Regions from separate parts of the Homo sapiens genome. Here region 1 is linked to region 2. The links are contacts of gene promoters, found by promoter capture Hi-C in human tissues and cell types (Jung and others, 2019). All regions are on one chromosome and are shown on one strand. Each heading gives the region's core, a stretch centred on a gene start or on the middle of the fragment in contact. The rest is flanking DNA. Distances are from core to core; before and after follow the strand shown. Region 1 has its middle 34 kb from the start of CHRNB4. Region 2 holds the start of CRABP1 (cellular retinoic acid binding protein 1).

Region 1 (3,872 bases), core at 878-3,377, 330 kb before region 2:
CTCCTTCCTCACCCAAACCACTCGCTGTATTTTCATGCCTTATTAGAAAATTACTTAGGCCGTGAAGATCTGCATACATTTACCTGCTTTCTGTAAAGGTTTTCAGATCAGGCAGTTTCCCACAGGGTTGGAATCTCAATGCATTGAGATGGTAAATTATTTCTTCCTTAATCCTCTCACTGAACTCCCGCAGGGCCTAGCACCGTGTTCTGCACACAGTGAGTCCGTCGTCCGGCAGACACTGGTTCTTCACCTGGTGCTGAGCTTGGAGCCCCACAGTGCCGGGCTGGCAGCGCCCATTGGGGTGGGAGGGAGTTGGTGCTCGCCCTCCTTGGAGTGCTTTTGCAAGTGTGTGTTAGATCTGTGGTCTAAGGCACATCAGGAGCCCAGAATGGTTTCCCAAGGGGAAGAAATAAAAGTCCCCACAAGAGAACGGAGCTTGCCCATCCACTGAGGAACAGTGCTCCAGGGTCCTTTTCTGACCCTGCTCAGCCGCAAACTTCTCCTCGCCCACCCCTCCTGTTTCTCTTCCTCCACCTCCTCCATAAGGACCTGGGCACTGTGCTGGGCCCCGCCTCTTGTGTTTGACTTTCCCCCTTGCATGGAGTGCTCAAGGAAGCCATCAAGTTGGACATCTTCCCCATAGGGCGCAATCCAAATGGGCACCTAGCGCTGTCAGCCACGGACTGTTGCATGAACGTGCTCACCCCAACCCTTCAACCCACACATAGGGAAGCCTTATCCCAAGCATGTGCTTTGTAAACACACACTTCTCATGGGCAGACAGAGAGTCTGGGCTCCCATATCAGCTTAGCTGCTGATCACGGTATAACCTTAGTCCCTCCCCTCTCCGGGCCTCGGTATTCCCAGCTGTATGATGAGACCACTGGACTCAATGAACTTGGCTTTCCTTTTAGTGTCAGTGTTCACCAAGTTGTCCTTGGTGTCCCTCAAGCAGCTGCTCCTGCCTCCCCCAGCCCCACCCATACACACACCTCATAGTTAGAGTGGGAATGAAGAGGTGTGGGTGGGTAGCCCCTCAGAAACTGCTGGCCCTGCTGGTGTCACCACTGAGAGCCCCTGGACACAAAGCCCTCCATGGACCCCCTTAGGCTTGCCTGGCAACACACAGGGGCCTGTTGCCCAGACACATGCTTCCTCATGGTGCCCCTCGGCTGACCACAGGGAAGCTTTGGAACTATCCCATAGAAAAGACTTCATTAGATCTCATTCTCCTCAAGTCCATTTGGGGAGAGCCGGCCGTAGAATGAGAGGGCTCATTTTCTGGTTGCATTAGCCATTAGCCATTAGCTTGGGAGGTCTGGGCCCTGAAGTCCTGGGCAGCGCAGGGAGGGGTGGGTGAGCATCTACTTCACACCAGAGGTGCTCCTGGCCTTGCCAGGCCTGACCTCAGAGGAGTTGATCACATGGGGGTCTTTTCTCCCCAAGACTCACAGAGACATGCAAAACGCCAAGTAGGGGGGTGGGTGAGGCCTACAGAGGGGAAGGAACTTGTTGAGGCCTCCACAGTGAAGGGGGCAGCTCCAGTGCCTGGCCCCCAGAAGGTCCTCAGGCCTGAGCCCCCCTGTAGCACCAACACAGGGCAGTGCTGAGCCGCTACCCCCAATCCCACCTCCCTAAGGTATGACTAATGGGCCAACTGTCCTGGTCCAGGGATGTTTCTAGCCAGCAACATTTAGCTCTGAAGGTAGCTTTCCTGCAGCTGTTGTAACAAATTAAAGCAAAATGGTTGGCTTAAAATCCCAGAACTTTGCTCACAGTTCTAGAGGCCAGAGGTCTGACATCAAGGTGCTGGCAGGCCCACGTTCCCTCGGAATGTGCTATGGCAGAGTCCCTCCTTGCCTCTTCCAGCTCCTGGGGGACCCAGACATTCTTTAACTCATGGCTGCATCACTCCAGCCTCTGCCTCTGTCTTCCCATGGTCTTTTTTGTGCCTTTCCTTTTCTGTCTCCTATAAGGACACACTGGATTTAGGCCCCGCTCAGACGATCTCATCTTGAAATCCTTGATTATACCTACAAAGACCCTTTTCCCCAATAACACCACATTCACAGGGTATGCGGGTTAGGAAATGGACATGTCTTTTCGGGAGGCCACTGTTCAACTCATAACATACACCATTGGATTGCCCCACTCCCCCAAATTGCCAGCCAGACTCTGTTGTTTGTTCATGCTTTCTTTGTGGGAACAATAACAGTAACCGCAATACTAATAGATAACATTTTAGTGCTTACTAAGTGCCAGGCACCATGATAAGCCTTTAACATATTAAACTCATTTAATTGTCACTGCAACCCTGTGAAGTGGTTACTATTCTCTCCAAACTACAGTCGAGGAGATGAGGGTCAGAGAGGAACATGTTGTTGGTAACAGGTGAATACAGAACTCAACTCCTGGGATCCCAGAGTTCAGAGTGGACAGACCAAGGTAAGAGACAGAGCTCTTGTCCCTGGAGTTGAAGGGGGTGAGGAGCTGAGGAAGATGATGGAGGAACTCTGGCCAGCACCACTCTGCCCCTTCCAGCTGTGTTACCCTGGGCCGGGGCCTGGCTGTCTCTGAGTCTCTGGCAGGTGAGGTCTGGGGTGGACTCTTTCTGGCGCAGGCCTGGGTTGATGACACTGGTTCTTAACCCTGGATGCATATCAGGATACCCTGGGAGCTTTTCAAAATCCCAATGTCCAGGCCACTCCCCAGGCCAACTACAACAGAGTCTCTCAGGGGTGGGATCCTGGCACATGGGTGGCTTTGACAGCTCCCAGATGATGCCAATGTGTGGTCCAAGCCAAGAACCGCTGCTCAAGTCTGTCCATTCTCTCCCTGGCTCACCATGCCCCAGTAGGGAAGCTGAGGATCTGAAACTCTGTGTCCCTGACTCCCAGTAGTTACTGGATAGCCAAGAGATGGGCCTGGCTTGGTGCAGATGAGGGACACCTGGGGCTGCAGCATGGGTTGGGGTGGGACAGAAAATGGGAAACAAGTCCCTGGCAGGCATGGGAGTGGCCGGCCAGTCTGCCAGAGACCCCTGATGTGAGTTCAGTCTCTGGCAGGCCCAGTCCAAGAGAGAAAAGGCCTGAAGGGATGACACACGGTGAGTTTTGGGTGTCAGAAAGTGGGACACAGCAGGACACAGGAACTCCCACGGTGTGACTTCTGGGAAGAAGGGCTGGGCAGGAAACGATGGAGGATTCATGCCAATCAGGACACAGGGATGCTGTGCTGGCCTGGCCCTGACCTTTCCATTGCAGCTCTGACAGCTGGGGTGGTCTAAGGCCCAGAAAGGGGCTGGTGTGAGGACTCTGTGTGAGGTTTGGGAAGATTTTTGGTGCAGACTCGGCTGAGGCCAACTGACCAGACAGCTCGGGCTGCTAGGGCTGCTCCAAATTTGGAATTCCGTGCCCTGGTTGGAGAAAGCAACCGGGAGAAGCACAGAGAAAAACTCTCCTTCTCCTCTTTTCCAAGAATGAGAATGGGGCCTTCTCTGACCATTTGGGAACTGGGTTTTTAAGACCAGGTTAGGAACTATTAAGGAAAAGAAAAAAAAGCCCTGCCGCCCCCACTTAGAACATTCATTTTGTAGTGAAACTTTGGCTTCAGTCTCTCTCTTCCTGTCTTTTTTTCTCTGCTCTCTAAGCCAACTGTATCTTTGTCTTGCTCTGTCTAGCTGTCTCTCCCTCTCCCTGTTGTTTGTATCTTTTTCTGCCTCTCTTGTGTACCTGACTCACTCTCTGCCTCTCTCTGTCTCTATCTCATTCTATCTTTATCTACTATGATCTCTGTCAGATCCCGGGGTCCAGGTCCAGCCCATGCTGAAGTCCAAGGGGAGTGCGTGGATGGGCAGAAAGAACACTCGG
Region 2 (4,349 bases), core at 319-2,818:
AATGCAATTTTTGCCCATGCAAAAAACGAATGTACAACCCCTTGCTTCAATCCACCGGTTCATCCCTGGGCCGATGCATGGAGAAATAAAAAAAAACTCTTGCCCTTGAGGACTAAGAGAGGGCAACTAGTCCATTTTCCCAGCCAGAACCTGCCTTGCTTTTGGAAAGACTCCGCCGTTCCTTTAAGGAACCAGGCCGAAGGCGGGAAGGGAGAGGTGACGGGGCCATCGGGACTGCTAAAACTGTATCCAGAGCGTACCCAGGCGGCCCAGGGACCCGGGCGGGCGCGGGGGATACGGCGGGAAAGGAATGCAAGAGCTGCGGCTTCACCTGCGACAGAGAACCTGGCGGCTCCTGCAACCTCCTCCTCCTCCTGCGCCGCCTGCGCTTGGCGCTGCAAACCGCTGCAAAAGCCACTGCTGGGAACGCGGCGCAACCCAGAGCCCGCTCTTTAAGCGCGGCTGTTAGCACCCCGGGAGGCAGCGTAGGGATGGGGTTGAGATGGAATGAAGGTAATACTTTGTCTTGAGCCAGGGGCAACTAGGATGCACAAACCCCCTCTGCAAACAGCCAGTGTACACACCCTGCAAGGAAGGCGCGCCACAGGCTGCAAAGGGAGACACAGGTTCCTCCAGCAGCAGTGGGCCATGGGCACCGAGCGGGGACACGGGGACGCTGTAGTGGCTCTGGGGCCTCACCCTGCACTTGCGTCCGTCCACGGTCTCCTCCTCAAAGCCTTCTCCGACCTTGAAGTTGATCTCAGTGGTGCGCACCGTGGTGGATGTCTTGATGTAGAACTGATCCCCGTCCTGGCGGATCTCCACGTGCGGCTTGGACGCAGCCGCTACGGCCACTTTCCTCAGCATGGCGTTCACACCTGCGCAGGGTGCACCACAGGCTTGGGTCACGGGGCCTCGCCGCCAGTCTCGGGACCGGTCGGGCACTGGTCATACCCTAACTTTAGAAAGGGGCCTTAAAATTGATCCACTCGTTTCCCTGCCCTCGCCCTTGTTTTCGAGATGAGAGACTGAGGCACAGAGAGGGTAAGTGACTTTCCTCGAGTTGCACAGTGAATTCGTGGCAGAGCCTGGTCCCAAATTTGAGTCTCCAAATTTAAGTCCCTGATCCTCCTTGCTCTCCAGTAATCTCTCCTCGCTATGATCTAGCACGAGATAAAGTCCGCACCATCGAGGAGGGCGCCAAACATTCAGCAAACGTTCGCTGAACGCGTGGGTTCCGGGATCTCTACCAGCTTCTCCGAGACCCGGTGCGCCTGGGAGACAAGGCGATCTATTGCCCCGGGGACTCCCTCCTGCCTGGGCTCCCCAACTTCCACCCCCTCCAGGACCGGGGCACTTCCGGGACCAGGGCACCTCCGGGCCGCATCTCCCCGTCGGGGCGCGCCCTCTGCACCAGCTTACCCAGTGCCTTGAGCAGCTCGTCGAAATTCTCGCTGCTGCGCATCTTCCAGGTGCCGGCGAAGTTGGGCATGGTGGCGGTGGCGGCGGCGGCAGGTACGGACAGCGGCGGCGCAGCGGGCACACTCTGAGCTCGCAAGGCGGAGACTGGCGCTTTGCGCCCAGCGCTGCGCGCCTTGAGTCACTAGGAGAGCGCCCCCAACCCCGCCGGGCTTCTGGCCCCGCCCCGCCGGCCCTGCCCCCGCTCCCCCGCAGCCCCTACTCGGTATGCGCTCAACTCCCAGCCCAGTTGTGCCTCAGCCTCCAGAGGTGCGGGCACCCGCTCTCCAACTGGGGAGCCTCCACCTCCCTCAGGACACCCACATCCCGCTTTAAAATGGGTGGTGGGAGAGGGTTAGCTGAAACAAGATGGGCTTGGAGGGGATAACTGTTGAAGCTGGGCGGTGTGGACTTGGGTTATGATTCTACTTTTCTCTCTACTTTTGAATATGTTTGAAAATATCCATAACATAAACTTAAAGTGGATAGCGAGCGGGGCCATCAGGGGATGGGACCCACTCTTTTTTCACCTCCGGTCGTACCTACTGGGTGTGCCCAGATGGTGTCCCTTCCCTCCCAGTCCGGGATCCTATTCTGAAACCCTCTCCCCGCATCCCCACGCCCCCCACAGGACCCATGGGGAGTGAGTGGCAGGAAACCGCAACCCCCATCAACACCAGCTTGGGCACTGAGGCGCGAATCCACGAGCTGCGGGTCCTCCGCGTTCCGAGTGCAGGAGGGGGCCAGACCTTTGTCAGGGCTCAGGACAAACTGTGGGTCGAGAGGCATGGACTGAATCAGCTCCAGAATCTGGGCTAGGTGCGGCCTGTTTTGCAAAAGCGTGAGGCTTTGCACTCTTCGGGCAGGCTGTGAGGGCCAAGGGGAGGAAGTCTTCTCCCTTTGCTCCCAAATAACCTAAACATCACGACCTAAAGTCCCCTCGGTGTTTCCACTAAGGGAGTACAAACACTTCACTATTACCCTTGTAGCTCTTCTCTGTACATTTTCCTTCCAGCTTTTTCCCACTATTTTACCATCTGCACACCTCAGCCAAACTGTACAATTCAGGATTCTAGAACGTGCCATGCATTTTATTATCTCTAAGTTTTTGCCCATGCCATGGCTTCTTCCTTGAATGCCCCTTTCCTCATCGGGTTAATCAAATCTTGCCCATTCACGAAAGCCCATCTTTATGCTCTCTCTTTTGTGAAATTCAGTTTCCTAATAAACTGTGATTATTTTTCTCTGAATTGACAGGATTCTTGTCCGGTCCTGCTCTTGTTCAAGTCTTCGCTCTGCTATAAACTGAACTCCTGGAGGGCAGTGATCGTTTATCCACTTGTCCTCCCTTCCTAAGGCTTAGCCAGGTGGGGCTCGATAACTGTGCATTGATTTGAGGAGGATGTGAGTGGTGGCCTGGGGTGAAGATTCCCCCAGGACCTTGGGGAATCTGTGCTGAGTGCCTACTGAACAGGGCCCTGGAAACTTCTGGAGGTGGCTGGGGCTGGGTTGCTGCCAGGAGGCTCCGAGGATCTGTCTAAGAAAGCAGCTGAGGACAGGAGAGGGGAGTGGGGCCATCACCAGCTGGAAAGGGGCATGGGCAGGGCCGGCATTCTGGACGTGCCGTCTGTGCAGTCACACAGGGCCATGCACTTAGAAGGGCCTGATAGTTAGATTGGAAAATGGAAAAGCAGGAATGCTCTGCTATTGCCAGCTTGAACGTCAGAATACTTTTTGTTTGTTTGTTTGTTTTGAGACAGAGTCTCGCTCTGTTGCCCGAGCTGGAGTGCAGTGGCGCAATCTTGGCTCACTGCAACCTCTGCCTCCTGGGTTTAAATGATTCTCCTGGCTCAGCCTCCCAAGTAGCTGGGACTACAGGTGTGTGCTACTATGCCCAGCTAATTTTTTGTATTTTTAGTAGAGACAGGGTTTCACTGTGTTAGCCAGGATAGTCTCGATCTCCTGACCTCGTGATCCGCCCTCCTCGGCCTCCCAAAGTGCTGGGATTACAGGCATGAGCCACCGTGCCTGGCCCCATAATACTTTTTGAACAAGGAGTCCTGAATTTTTATTTTGCACTGGGATCTGCAAATTAAGTAGCAGGTCCTGGATGTGGGAGGCAAGGGATGGAGCTGCCATAGAATCAAACCCACTTCACAGAGGGTTGAGTGCCTCTCCAGTGAAGGGGCAAAACAGGAGTGCCATCCAGCTAATGCAGGCCTCTGCCCCCATCCAACACTCTTCCCTAAGAAGGCTTCAGCCATCTAAAGGGCAGGGCTGGGGAGGGACTGGGGCAGGAGGCTGGAGGAGGGCAGCAATGTTGGAGCAGCATCCTAGTTTACAGCCCAGAGAGACCTTGTGAGGATAGTCAGAGGGCCGTGGATGAGGCACAAAGGTGACAGAGAGCTCTTGCAGCAAAGGCATTGGATGGACAAAGAGGGAAGAGGGAAAGAAGAAGGTGAGGGAGGGAGTCAGAGAGAGAATGGGGCAAGAGGGGCCAGATGAAGGTGTCCACTCCAAAAGTTGGCCATACTGGGACAGGACAGTGGTGTCGTTCTGCAGGCACAAAACAAGGGCGGGAGCAGGGTCCAGGAGTGAGGAGGGCACAGCCAGTTCAGCCATAGAGTGGAAGATGATCCCAGAGTCCTTGTGAGCCCACTCTCCTTGTTTTTAAGACAGGGTCTGGCTCTGTCGCCAGTGCTGGAGTGCCCTGGTGCCATCTTGGGTCACTGTAACCTTGCCTCCCGGGCTCAAGCAATCCTCCTGCCTCAGCCTCCCAAGTAGCTGGGATTACAGGCATGCACCACCGTGCCTGGCTAATTTTTGTATTTTTAGTAGAGACAGGGGTTTGCCATGTTGCCCAGGATGGTCTCGAACTCCTGAGCTCAACC

Evidence for each region. The method cuts DNA at HindIII sites, captures the fragments that hold promoters and counts their contacts. A contact is called where the count stands out against the background at its distance.
Region 1: a contact is called between a fragment that was not itself captured here and the fragment with the promoter of CRABP1 in region 2, in 2 of the 25 tissues and cell types used here (H1 embryonic stem cells and mesenchymal stem cells).

The regions. Positions count from the first base shown.
Region 1 is chr15:78,672,949-78,676,820 of GRCh38, reverse strand. No RefSeq gene overlaps it. Among named protein-coding and RNA genes, the nearest start is that of CHRNB4, 34 kb to the right of the region's middle. RefSeq lists an enhancer at 2,652-3,542. The HindIII fragment of the contact is 7,783 bases long and covers 1-3,872 here.
Region 2 is chr15:78,337,572-78,341,920 of GRCh38, reverse strand. It overlaps CRABP1 (cellular retinoic acid binding protein 1), which reads right to left and starts at 1,568. Exons shown (of 4, transcript NM_004378.3): 1 at 1,423-1,568; 2 at 700-878. The coding sequence starts at 1,492. RefSeq lists an enhancer at 1,390-2,018. The HindIII fragment of the contact is 13,960 bases long and covers 1-4,349 here.